Linked DNA regions of Homo sapiens: all the other regions are linked to region 3. The links are contacts of gene promoters, found by promoter capture Hi-C in blood cells and fetal thymus (Javierre and others, 2016). All regions are on one chromosome and are shown on one strand. Each heading gives the region's core, a stretch centred on a gene start or on the middle of the fragment in contact. The rest is flanking DNA. Distances are from core to core; before and after follow the strand shown.

Region 1 (2,700 bases), core at 103-2,602, 510 kb after region 3:
CCTCCTCCCTACCCCTCCTGCTCCCTACCCCTATTGAGTTTTCTGGCCCCTTTCTCTCCTTTATTCTTTCTTTCTTTTCTCAATTTGTAGCTATCAGTTTCTTTCAAGAACTGCTATAGCAACTTTGTACCCTTTCTTATGCAGAACGTCTTCTCTTTTCCACCCATATTCTTTCTGTCCCCTGTGATTCTAATCTGCTCTGAGGAAAAACTCTTTCTATCGGATATACGATAATTATGGTAAGAGAACAATAAGATTAAACACAAAGTCTCATTAAAAGGGCATACATTTATTGCAAATGATGAAAATAATGCAACCCAAAATAAGACTTTCATCCAGAAAAACATATAATACCTGAGTAAAGATTGCAATGTTTTCTATTCCATGGAAAACTGCTACTGAACCAAAGGAGAATGTTTTTTCCCTTTCTCCTCTGTTTTAGCTACCCACAGGAACTGTTCAGTTTTTGTCTTCCTTTCACATTTCCAACCCAAATATTATAGTAAACACTGTTGTTAAAGGTTATTGATGAATTGAGTGATATTATCATTCATTTTGCAAACACGCATATTTGCCAGGAATGATAGGGAGTTGAGATGCAAAAATGAATATGACATTTTCCCTTCAAAGATATTACAGTCCATTGCAGTATCATTTAAATAAATTATACAAATATATGTTAGCAGTGCTGTGATAAGCCTGTGTTTGGGGAGAGTGGGGGCACAAAAGAAGATCTAGACCATTTTTCACTGCAGTGTTTAGGTGTAGGTCACACAAGTCATTTTGAAAAACAGGTAATGATTAAATGCTCTGAAGGTGGACAATTTAATGCTGTGGAAATGAATAATGCTTTTCTAATGAATCAAAGTAGATATTGATTAAGGGTAAGGGCAGGTAGAGAGAAAGGTGAGAAATGATAGAAAAGCAGAATAAAGATGAGGGAAAAGTAAAAGGGAAGATAAATTTTGCTCAATTCACTTAGTCGATGCAACACATTCAAATTACTGGCAGCAATTTTCTCAGAAATGTCTAGTAGAGTTTCACTTTTTTTCTAGCTTTGAGGATAATAGCTCATCAAATTACACAGATAGACTATGAGATAATTGGAAATATCTAAGTGGTATATCAGTGTATCGGCTATTAGTGACTGTTAACGAGGAGTTGGAATAAAGCAATTTACCTGATGCTGGTATGCAGAAGACTCACTAGCTAGATACACAGTGAGGCTCTGTTAGTTATTGTTCAAAAATTCATATAGTGTTATTGACACGTTCACCTTGAGAACGTTTGTAGGTCATAGCTTTGCTATGGATGTGTAATTCTGAACACAGTAAACTGTTCTGTTCTAGTGTAGTTAATGAAAACAGGCAACGGTCTGCTGCATTGCATTACTGAAATATTACTAGAGCATTGTATTTCCAAAGTATTACTGAAATAGTTACCATGTTACAATTTTCTGTACTAGTTTTAGTCAGTGTTATGATTTGAATGTGTCTTCCCAAAATCATGTGTTGGAAACTTAATCCCCAAAGCAACTGTTTTGGGAAGTGGGGCCTAATGAGAGGTAATTAGGCCATAAGAGCTGAGTGAATGAATTAATATAGATATTGCAAAAGTAGGTTTGTTATAAAAGGGGGAGTTTGACCCTTCTTTATTTTCTGTCTCCCTTGTCCTTGCCCTCTCTTGGCCTTTCTGCCTTCTGCCATGGGATGATGCAGGACGAAAGCCCTCATCAGATGCTTACATCATGATCTTGGACTTCCCAGCCTCCAGACTGGTAAGAAATAAATTTCTGTTCATTATAAATTACCCAGTCTCAGCTACTCTGTTACAGTTACATAAATGGACCAAGAGAGTCAGGGAGACAGCATGGGACAGGTTACGAAACTTTTGCATCTGAGTCAGGCTCCTGTGCTCTGTCTACTCATTTTTAATTTTACCTTTGTGACTTTATTACTAGGGTGTCCTAGAATAAACCATTTAATCTCTTTGCACTGGGGCTTCATAATCTACAAATGGGAAGAGTAGGTTAGACAACTTCTGATCTCCTTTCTAGATATGACATTCTAGGATTCCAGATAGTGGAATACAATAGTGTGGCTTTTTGTTTCCCTCTCCTAGAGTGGATGAGAAATCACTTAGTTAGGCAGAAAGCCCATTTATAATGCTTTCCTGCCTCATATTTCCTCTCAGACACTATTGGTGTAGAACAGATATTTAATAGGTCCTTGTTGACTGAGTAATGTCCTTCCTATGGTCAGGAGCCCTCAGAGGCTTTTGTAAATGTTCTCAATTTAGACTTCAGAGCATTAAAGGAAGATGCTTCATTTTACCAGTGACATTTTTTTAATGATACAACTAAAAGCAAGGATTTAGCTTTTGCTTTATGTGAGTAAACAAAGTTGTTAAAGTCAGGCATCGTCCTGGAATAAATGTGAACTGCTGTAATTAGAAACTGTTTCTGTCATAATTACGTTCTAGAGGCTGAGGCGTGAGTTCATTTTAATAAATGGGAAAAGAAAGTAACCCAGGCCAAGGAGATTCATCTTTGGAAAAGAGCCTAGCAGAAATACAACATCATCCTACCTCAGAAACTGGATAAACAAATGCCCAAATGAGAGAAACAGAAACCACAGCTCCTAGAAAAAACTCTTGAACCATAAGAAGACTGTAAAAGAAAGGGGCTGAATTCTGACCATA
Region 2 (2,700 bases), core at 180-2,679, 410 kb after region 3:
TCCTCCAGAAAAAACTGAATAAAACACTTTTTTTGTGGCACAGAGAATAGTTGCCTTACCCAGAGCTCAGAAAACCACATAAACAGAGGAAGAATGTAATCTTGGTTAGCATGTAAAGCATGCAGCTGACATTTTGCAAGGCTTGTTATTAGAACAACATTCCCTCCTCAGCTGTAAGGTGGGTGAGTATGCAGCTTAGAATTAGACAGTCTGCATCTGAATTACAGTTCACCATTTCCCAACTGTGTGAGTTTAGAATTTACAAAATCCCCATAAGCTTGAGTTTTTTCAACTACAAAAGGAAGTAAAAATATCTACCTTGCAAGGTTTTGTAAATAGGATATAAGACAGTAAATGCAAGATATTTAACATAGTGACTGGCAAATATTTTCATCATGAGTAAATATTATTGCCATGTAGTGATGGATCTCAAACTTGAACTTTCAGCATGTGAAAAACTAGATTCTGAAAATAATATCTGGATACTCAAGAAATCAATGTTCATAGTAGATTAGGATTGCACAAAACCAGTGAATTACCCACTAAAGAAAAACAAGATGCTAAATAAAAGAGAAATTCACACCAGAACAGACTATTTTATTAGCCATTAGTATGGCTAAGTGTTTTACCAGTTACTGTTTTACCAGCTAAAGTGTTTTACCAGTTCCACTGTGAGAAGGACATGGAAGTTTATTCAGATCCTCATTTTTATCTACCAAATACTTATCATGAATGCTATGCATATGACCTATTTGTTTAATGCATTCATATATATAGAAATATTTCTAAACATATCAATATGTAACTTATTAATACTTAGGATTATTTATTATTTTCATTATCAATTAAAGTTTTGGGTATCTCATAAAATGCTGGAAAAGGGAATATTTGGGGTATTATTTAATATACAGATAACTGAACTAAGTGGACCCGACTGACCACTATAGGCAAGATTCTTTTGCAAAGAAGGAGAAAACTGATGACCGGTATGAATAGTTCAAAAACCAAAGACTGGAGTCAGATATGCTTCAGTTGAATTCCACATTTTCCATTTAAGAGATTAGACAATATTCTTAAATTCTCTGAGACGTCATTTTTCTATCTATAAACTGAATGTAATACTGCCTCTCTCTGATGATTATTGTAAGGTTATAAAAATTTTTGAAGGTGTCTTACATAGAACTGAACACAGTAGGCACATGATAAGTATTAAGTTCTTTTGTCCTTCCCTTTTCTTTTGAAAAATGCCATATTATCTAAAAGGAAATTTTCTCCTTTTGGGGCAGGGGGTGTATAGCTTTGCTGAAGCACTGTAAAGTGTTTGATATAATCATAGAAAAAAGGAGAAGTAGAACTATTTCAGTTGGAAAACTAAAGGAGTGAGATAATCAATGGACATAATTTATATTTACAAAAATCCTGATAGTTAATAAAGATCTTCACACATATATGGACTTTCCTAATATATATAATTCAGTTTGGAAAGTGCTTTTTGTCCTGTTAAAAAACTTTTGAGATAAAATAAATATGAAGGTCATATCTTAATAAAGTATTGCTAAATTTTTATCTCAATTGTATTTTAGAGAAAACTAAAATCTTACATGTTATAAACTAGACTCAGGTAGAATCTCTTTTAAATAATTTAACACACATTTATAAATATGCACAGATATATCACTACATTTTCACTGTGCTTTATTTATCATTAATTTGTTATAACTTCTACTATGTTTATTGAGCCTTTTTGAGAACAGCCACTGTTCACCTAACTGTATTTTGCCAACATTTACTTATGATGTTCTTGATTTAATATGATAGGGTTTATTTTTAGGGACTAAAGAGAGTTAGAAAAAAAAAGAGTTAGTAGTTCACAGAAAAATCATCACCTTTATATACCCTTTGCCTATTACACACAGGTTTATATCTGCTTTGTAAAAGAACACTCACACAATACTTGTTAAGAACCTTGTCTTTGGCTGGATGCGGTGGCTGATGCCTGTAATCCCAGCACTATGGGAGGCTGAGGCAGGTGGATCGCTTGAGCCCAAGAGTTCGAGACCAGCCCGGGCGACATGGCGAAACTCCGTCTCTACTAAAAATATAAAAATTAGCTGAACGTGGTGGCATGCGCCTGTGGTCGCAGCTACTCAGGAGGCTGAGGTGGGAGGACTGCTTGAGCCCAGGAGGCGAAGTTGCAGCCCAGATTGCATCACTGCACTGCAGCCTGGGTGACACAGCAAAAAAAAAAAAAGCTCTGTTTTATGTGGTCTTTGGTCTTTCAAAAATTGCAGGATGGCTCATATTGACCCAGGTGAGCATTTTTTTTTTTTTTTTTTTTGCCAGTCTGATAACATAATTTCTGTGACTATTTTAAAGAACAGCTGACTTTAGTACACTGTTTTAATACTTTGCTTCTCTTAACAGGAGCCATTAAGTTGTGAGAAATTTTAGTACTCGAGTTGTGTTGAATTTTTTTAGTTTTCTTCATAGCATAAAACTTCTCCTGAAAAGGAAGAGGTCAATATGGACATCACAGTGGACAATTTCTTGGAAGGATGATTTAGGCTTATTATGAAGCTTATTAGGCTTATTATGAAGCTTATTAGGCTTATTATGAATTAAAACTTATTATTAAGTATTAATGTAAATTCTCATAGGGCCAGGCAGATAACATAAATGAGATAAGTAGGAAGAATGAGA
Region 3 (2,700 bases), core at 26-2,525:
CATGCGCCACCACGCCCGGCTAATTTTGTATTTTTAGTAGAGACGGCGTTTCACCAATATTGGAGGGGCTGGTCTTGAACCCCCAACCTCAGGTGACCCGCCCGCCTCGGCTTCCTAAAGTGCTGGGATTACAGGACTGGCCACTGCGGGAGCTGCGGCAGCTGCGGCCTCTGGGTACGGGGTCAGCGGGCAGTCCTGTAATGGCCACATTACAGGACAGGCCATCGCGCCTGGCCACATGCCTTAATTTTCAAAGTCAAATTTGTCTTTAAAAAGAATGAATTCCTACCCTTTGGGGGTATTTATTTTTGCAACTAACTTCCATCCTTTTATTAAGTAATCAAACATAGCCCATTTGAATGTTGGAAAAGAACTGTCAGAAATACAAGTTCTTATTTTGTACTTTGGTAACATGAATTTTACACTTAGTTGAACATGAAGAATCAAAAAAGCTCTGGATTGTTGTAATAATTGTTTAGAATTTTAGATGTACCATTTGACCTTTGACTTTAAGATGAATTTCAGTGTCCTCAGTAAATAAAGGCTTACCCCCAACCTTAAATAGTGACGCACAAAGGCTATTATTACCACCACTGAGTGGCTTAAATAATCCTGTCAACAGCAATCGCCCATTTCCAAAGCCATGGTGAAACATCTCTGTGCTAATTTCTTTTGTTTTGTTTCCTAATTTTTTTTTTTTGGCAGGTGGTGGGAAATAATCTTTGTCTTCTTTGGAGTAAACCTTCAACACCGGATTTTTTCTTTTAATTATGGATGTAAACCCCAATATCCCCATAATTTACATTGGGTCTCGACCAATTGCCTAATTATAAGAGGATATATTTAGGCTCTTATTTCATCCACACAAAAACTTGTGTAACAGGTAGTTGGAAACATCTGAGGCACCACTTTGATTCTGTTTTGGATGGTCATGTTTTTTCTCCTCCGTTTCCCCAGCATGTCTGCCACCATCCTCATGCACTGCTTCCAAGTGCCTGGGAGCCTTTATGAGCGTCCCTAAACCTAAAAGAATCCAGAGGCGGGGCTCGGATGAACCCTCGAGATAAGCAAGTGAGCCGCTTCTCCCCTCTAAAGGATGTTTACACGTGGGTGGCACTCGCTGGAATCCAGCGCTCGGGCAGCCCTGGGAGGACGCGCTCAGCTGCGAGGAGGTGACCGGCGGCGGCGCGGGCAGTCCGGAGGGGCGGGACGGGGCGGGGCAAGGCGGGGGCCGGGCCGGAGGAGGCGGGCTCCCGGGATCCGCGGTGTCCGGCAGTAGAGCTCGCTGCAGATCCGGGCTCTGACCATGATTTGGCGCCGCGCGGCGCTGGCGGGGACGCGGCTGGTTTGGAGCAGGAGCGGCTCGGCAGGCTGGCTTGACAGGGCGGCGGGAGCTGCGGGAGCTGCGGCAGCTGCGGCCTCTGGGTACGGGGTCAGCGGGCAGGAGTGCCGCGGCGTGGTGCGCAGGCCTTGCGGGGGTCTGGAGAAAGCGGTGGGCGGAGGTGCCCCTTTGCCCCGGCGCCGGGTGGGCGAGGCGTACTAGCGCGTGGGCTCTGAGTCATAACACGCAGAGGCGCTCGAGGGATGGGCAGGGAAGGGTGCCCTCCGCGGCTGTGCTGACTTCAGGAGCCTGTGACTCTCGCGTTGAAAATACTTCACTCATGTTCACTTAGGCCATCCCTCTGTGAATTGCTACATAAAATACAAGACGCCGCAATCAATTGGAATTTCTCTGAAAGAGCGAATGATTCTTAGTCCAAGTGTGTCCCAAATACTGCAGTGGACATAGGAAAAACGGAACAGTTTTCTGGTGTTTGGTTACAATTCTAATTTGACCGGGCGTCCTGCATTCTTGTTTGCTAAACTTAGCCACCCTACTGCAGGAAGTGAAGGCGATGATTCCCGCTGAATGGCCAGAGCTTTTAGGATAGAGGCTGACTGATGGTGATGCCGCCTGCGGCTAGACCGAGGATAGTGCTTTCCTTACACTTCCTCGTTTGGAATATCAGCGGCTTCGGGACCTGCAGTGGAAGGGAACTGCGGCTGTGCTGCCCACGCCCGCGCGGCTGGTGCCTGGCGGTCCTGCCGGCTCGCACTTCCGCGCCTGCCACTGCGCACTTGGCCGGAGAGTCTGTCTCGCTATCTACTTGATCTGGGAGCTTCTATCAGTTTTGCAAGATTCTAGGAATCTCAAGTTTAACTTTCCAGACCAAGCTAGAGACCCCTCCTGAAGGGCTAATCACAGGCTGTTAAGTGTTTGACAGCTCTTTGAGGCCCCGCCGTGTTTTTTTCTGCGTATCCCTGGGGTCAATATAGCACTTTGCCTACTTAGCACACAGTAGGCGCTCCATAAATGTGGCATGACTAGGTGCTTCATCTGTGTTGAAATGAAATGTTTATTGTGCACTTACTTCCTCCGTGCATGTTTCTATTCATAGTTCGCGACAGTTTTTACCAAGGTCAACTAGAAATTGAAGGGAAAGGGTGTCTTCCAGAAACTTTTATTTGGGTAATATTTCAGAATGCACCTCCTACCTCCTCTCACTACCCAAGAAAACATTCTCTTGTGTTCTATTGGAGCTCCTTCAGTAGTAAATGCTGTAGTAGATGGTTTGGGTATGACAGTTTAAGTGCTGGACCTGAGATGAAAGGACTTGCTTTCTTAGTTGATAAACCAAATACAGCTTGCTGATTTATTCC
Region 4 (2,700 bases), core at 150-2,649, 490 kb after region 3:
GCCTTACAAATAATTTAATTAATTCTCATAACAAATCTATAAAATAGATACTGTGATTATCCCTGCATTATAGATGTTTCAAAATTGGGGCATAAAAAGGTCATACAGCTAGCAAATAGTGGATTGTGGATTGGGCGTTAGAATCCAGGCCATCTGGCTTCAATGTGTACACTCTTATACCCCAAAGTATACTGTACCACTCCCTAGGCTTCACAATCTGCCCAAATAGCCTTTACATTATAATGAAATGGAAAAACTCTTTGATGATGGACAGTTGACAACCCTAGTCTCTTAGGATGGCATTATGAAGGAAATTATATTCCTCCTTAACATGGAAATAAAGATTGAGAATGGTCCTTGATTTCTGCTGAAGAGAGAATACATTATGTGAGATGAACTGACTCATAACATAACACTTTTATTAGGTTGAACCATATGAAATTGTGTTTTTATAAGGTAAAAATGGTAGCATATGGATAACTTTATGTGGTTCAAGCTAATATCTTTACTCCTGTTTAAGCCAACTTTTATTGGCTTCCACGACTTGTCTTTTCTTGGTAGATCAAGTAGGCAAATCACTTTCTTTCTCTAAAAATTTCTTTACCTTTCCACACTCTACCACTCCCACCTATCCCAAACATCTGGGCAGCCAGACCTGCAGCTTCCACTGCTTCAGGGAAGGATGATACACAGCGTGCAGGTGATACACAACTACAACAACAAAATAGGATTACTGGGCTTTCAAAGTTCAAATGCCTAAATCAGAATATAAAATATAAATTTTGGGGGCAAGTAGAAATTTTTCCACCTCTGTTCCCAGGTTAAATAAAGAGTTTTAGTATCAGAGAAGGGAAAAAAAGTCTGAGTAGCAGCAAGAAGCTTCTTTCCTGAGAAGATGAGAGCCAGTTACTAAGCAATGGAATGTATTAGTTATTACTAATCCTTATAATAATTTTCCTCAGGAAACTAATATTTGTTACTTAGTTATAACACAGGGTGGCTATACCTTCCTGTCCCAGGCCAATCCTGGAAGTGGAGGAGGGTGAGGGATGACAGAAATGTGTCCTATTTTTTGGTTATTGCCATGGATCACATCAAGATGCCACAGTCCTCCCGGAACTCCATGGCTTAAGTTACATTGTGGTTTATTTCATAGCAAGTCTAAACTTACCGACAGAACATATGTCCACTTTAAAAAAATAAAGATTTTTGCACACTTAAATTTGTTAAATTTCACACACTTATTTTTTTATTTCATATATATATATTTTAAATTATACTTTAAGTTTTAGGGTACATGTGCACAACGTGCAGGTTAGTTACATATGTATACATGTGCCATGTTGGTGTGCTGCACCCATTAACTCGTCATTTAACACTAGGTATATCTCCTAATGCTATCCCTCCCGCCTCCCCCCACCCCACAACAGGCCCCAGTGAAATTTCACACATTTATTACTTGACAGATTATGGTTTTAAATTTTTAAATCTTAAAATTCAGCTGTTCTCTTTTTTTTTGCATAAAATAAATGTTCCAGGTTTTTATAGACATAGTGCTAAGGACTGATGTTTCAATATTTATAAGAAAGATTGTATTTATAATATATTTTATTGTAAGCTATAAGGTACTTTATGAAGCACTTAGATAAATATTTACAATATTAGGAATTAAAGTATTTTCAGATCACTTTGACTTTATGTATTAAAAAGTCATGTACTATGTGAAACAGTAGATTATACAGATAAATAAGACACAGTCTGTATGCTTAATTGCATTTTGCATATTTTTTATGACTTTAATCTCTATTTGCAACAATTTAGGCAGGTTTACAGATTAAATAAGTTCTGCATATACATGCTGATAGACGTGAATATAGCGAACAAGACAAAGATAGAGAGTTTTACTTGGGCAAGCTTGAGTTAAAGAGTTGCTAGATAAACAAATCCCAAATAAGCAACATGAATCATGGTCAATTATGACATATGGAAGCCCTTGATGTACAGATAACCAATTTTGGTGTTAGAAAGAGAAGGACCTATATTCCCAACTGAGTCATCAAACTATGTGCATGATTATGAACAAGTTACTTTATATTATAAATGTTAGTTTTCTGAGGAAAATTATTATAAGGATTAGTAATAACTAATACATCTCAAGTGCTTAATAATTGATAAATTTTATTAATATTATTTTGTTGCTGATAATATTTTCCCATGATAATGCCAATTCACTATATATACCTTTAAAAGATTAGTGATCATGGCCATTATTTGAGAACAGTGTTTTCACTTATAATGGAAAGCAGTATTTTATCTGTAGTTACCCCTAGCTTATGTACACTGTTGCTGTCAATTCAAGGAGATTGTAAATGAATGGGAAAGAAGGTGACTATTTTTATTTCCAGCAATGTTTTGAACCAACCAAGTAACTGAAAATGCTTCCATTACAAAACAAAGAGATTTTCTGGCTAAAATAGTTTTAAAATTATTTTAAATTCATGGTTGCTCTTACTAGTAAGAAAGGAAAATTCTCAATTTCCTATACAAAGTGGGAATTGAAAATCATAATGGTAGGATGGAAAACTGGAATTGTGACTCAGCCTGGCAAATAATCTTTTTTGTTTCTTTCCTGGTTAAGGAAAAAGAAGGAAGCTAGCACCTGGGGTATGATGCATGTACATGTGGGAAGTTTGTATTGAG
Region 5 (2,700 bases), core at 151-2,650, 320 kb after region 3:
GTTGGTTATCTGAATGCCTGTCTTATTTGCCTTTGCTTTCATGAGATAAGAACTATAATGATTCACCTTTGTTTCCATCTAGGACAGACTTTTCCATAGAGTGGGTGCTAAGAAAACATTTAATTGAATTTAATTAAAGAGGCTTTGGCATAGTAGGAAGTTCACTGATCTTGGAGACAGCGATTTGGTTTCAAGGCCAGGCTTTGGTCAGGATGCTTCCTTTCCAGCTCAACTAGGACTTTCCCTCTGGGGAGCCTCCTTGTCACCCACTCTACCCTGCATTCTGAATGAGCTCATTCTCTGTGTTTTCCCACAAACCTGTTCTTCCCTTTCTGGGGCACTTAGCACTATCCTGTGTCTCCTCTGTGAGACAGTGAATGCGCTGGGTTCAAACTCTGTCCTCTGAATCCTGTATTTGCAGAGATTAGTACCCCCCATAGTGCTAAAAAAATTGTTACATGAATAAATGGTTTAACTTCTCTGTGCTTAAGTTTTTTCCATCTAAAAATAATAATGTTAATAATACATAATATTGGGGTTTCCAAGAACCTCCCTTAGAAAAAAGGCTACCCCCCTTTCATAAGAACAGCAGTTGTTTGTTATTGAACACTTATTAGATGTTGACTGACCAGACGCTTCACATATATTACCATTATGTCCTACCCTGGTGCCACAATGAGATAGGTGCTATTGTTCCCATTTTATAGGTGTTTGGAGAGGCAAAGGCACTGCCCCAAATCAATAGCAAGCAAGTCAATGGCAGAGCTGGGATTTGAATTCCAAGTCTGTAATTTTTCTACTGTAGAATTTAGTCACATGCGTTTAGTGTTTCCTTAGGAAGCTCCTCTTGGTTTGCCATCAACAGGTCTCCTCATGGCTATCCTGGCTGTGTCATGATGGTCTCCAAAAGTTTGACTCTGAAAGTTAAGCTACTGAGATCCAGTCCCTAATGCATTACTGGGTACATAGTAAGTGTCTGCTCAATATACAATTGTTGAATAAAATAATGAATTAGTGAATGAAAAGCTTATAGATGATACTAGTAATTTATGAAATAAACCAAGAGACTCTTCATGTATGTGTGGCTAAAGAGTTTTTAAACACAACTAACCTGGGCAACATAAAGAAACCCTCTGTCTCCAAAAATACAAAAATTAGCTAGGAGTGGTGGTGTGTGCCTGTAGTCCCAGCTACTCAGGGGGCTGAGGTGGGAGGTTCATTTGAGCCTACGAGGTCGAGGCCGCAGTGAGCTGCAATAGTGCTGTAGGACTTCAGCCTGGGCGACAGAGCAAGAACCTGTCTCAAAACAAATAAACAAACAAACAAACAAACACTCACAACTTTAGATGACATACAAATATTCCTAGAAAGGTAAAACTGGAAGTGGATTCTCATTTAGTAGTGGAAAATGTGAAATAAGGGATTGATTAGTTAACTAGGGATCTTATTAAAAATGAACATTTCTACATTCCATTTACAGGGTTTGTTATATTTAAACCCTCCGTTTGTAAATGTGATATACAATGCTTTGTGAATTGTAAATTGCTAATGATACACTTAATATATTATTAAGGAATTGTTTTCTTTTATGTGAAAGTTGAAGAAAGAGTCCTTTGGGATTTGTTGAAACTCAAGGAAGAGAACAGTTTTGAGACTCAGGAAGATCTAAAAAGAAAAGGGCTCTTTTATGCAGGGAAAATAATGTTTTTCTGTTTTTCATTTTTATTTTTATTGTCAGTGTCTCCTTAGAAACAAATCTGGTTGACTAAGCTTTAACAAATAGATTCAACTGGAATATTTGGCTATTTCAGGGTAGCGACATCCTTAGATTCCGTTAGGTGAGAGTGGTGTATTGTCACGATGCACACGAAGTCTGAAAGGACAGCCAGGAAATTCTGAGCAAGCCCGCAGTGTTCAGGATGAGCAGCAGCTCTGGGGAGCCCGGGCTGATTCTAGTTGCCTGTCATGCTTGTGACTCAGCAGCCCTTTGCTTCCCTCAGTTGATTCCTTCCTGTTCCATCACTGATTCGTTACGCCTTTCTTCTCTCCTTGTTTCTGCCAGTGGCTTCTGCTTATTGCGTTATTTTAAAAAATACAAATAAGAAACCATTAGAGGCTTACTGTGTGCCAAACAAAGTCTCATTTTTACACTCACAGGGTATAGGGTGTCTTTCTTTTCTGATTATTCATTACCTTAGTCCCCAAATTGAGTGCACAGGGAGCCCCAAAGCCATCACATAAGAAAATATTCATGAATGAACAGAAGACTATATATTTCCCACCCAAAACTCCTCCCCACTTATTATTAGTCTTGGTGATTAACAAACCACTCATATACAATGTAAATGTAATTCAAAGCATAATAGTAAAATTTGCAAAAGATGTAGAATTTAATGAAGTTGTCAACAGAAAAGCCATTGATAAATGAGAATTTGGGAATGTGGCCAGTTAACAATTGGAGAAGATAAAATTGACGTGGATCACAACATAATAAACATGCTAAAAAAGAAAGATTTGAGTAGTAAAGTCTTGGAATAATTTTAGAAGTCATGGAATATATTCTTAAAAATGCGAAATGCAACGTGAACCGTATTATCCTAGCATTTTGTTTTGTCCTCCTAACTCCATGACTTGACACTTTGTTCATTCTAATACTTGGTATATACTGAAAGCTATAATCTAAATATTAGTAATATTTCA

What was found. The method cuts DNA at HindIII sites, captures the fragments that hold promoters and counts their contacts. A CHiCAGO score of 5 or more calls a contact.
Region 1: a fragment that was not itself captured here is called in contact with the fragment with the promoter of GLRX2 in region 3 in 1 of 17 cell types (neutrophils); the score reaches 6.2 in neutrophils.
Region 2: a contact is called between a fragment that was not itself captured here and the fragment with the promoter of GLRX2 in region 3, in 1 of 17 cell types (neutrophils). The highest score is 6.0, in neutrophils.
Region 4: a contact is called between a fragment that was not itself captured here and the fragment with the promoter of GLRX2 in region 3, in 1 of 17 cell types (total B cells). The highest score is 5.8, in total B cells.
Region 5: a contact is called between a fragment that was not itself captured here and the fragment with the promoter of GLRX2 in region 3, in 1 of 17 cell types (monocytes). The highest score is 7.4, in monocytes.

What each region holds. Positions count from the first base shown.
Region 1 is chr1:192,592,676-192,595,375 of GRCh38, reverse strand. LOC105371664 (a long non-coding RNA gene) reads left to right here. Exons shown (of 5, transcript XR_002958418.2): 3 at 1,719-1,777. Among named protein-coding and RNA genes, the nearest start is that of RGS1, 18 kb to the right of the region's middle. The HindIII fragment of the contact is 3,349 bases long and covers 1-2,700 here.
Region 2 is chr1:192,698,412-192,701,111 of GRCh38, reverse strand. No RefSeq gene overlaps it. Among named protein-coding and RNA genes, the nearest start is that of MIR4426, 17 kb to the left of the region's middle. RefSeq lists an enhancer at 1-21. The HindIII fragment of the contact is 2,300 bases long and covers 280-2,579 here.
Region 3 is chr1:193,103,989-193,106,688 of GRCh38, reverse strand. GLRX2 (glutaredoxin 2) reads left to right here and starts at 1,275. Exons shown (of 4, transcript NM_197962.3): 1 at 1,275-1,425. The coding sequence starts at 1,307. RefSeq lists silencers at 1,097-1,336, 1,116-1,410, 1,387-1,486. The HindIII fragment of the contact is 5,966 bases long and covers 1-2,700 here.
Region 4 is chr1:192,616,893-192,619,592 of GRCh38, reverse strand. All of the region lies in intron 2 of LOC105371664 (a long non-coding RNA gene), which reads left to right. All of the region lies in intron 1 of LOC107985241 (a long non-coding RNA gene), which reads right to left. Among named protein-coding and RNA genes, the nearest start is that of RGS13, 18 kb to the left of the region's middle. The HindIII fragment of the contact is 1,035 bases long and covers 882-1,916 here.
Region 5 is chr1:192,787,637-192,790,336 of GRCh38, reverse strand. All of the region lies in intron 1 of LOC105371665 (a long non-coding RNA gene), which reads left to right. Among named protein-coding and RNA genes, the nearest start is that of RGS2, 20 kb to the left of the region's middle. The HindIII fragment of the contact is 744 bases long and covers 1,029-1,772 here.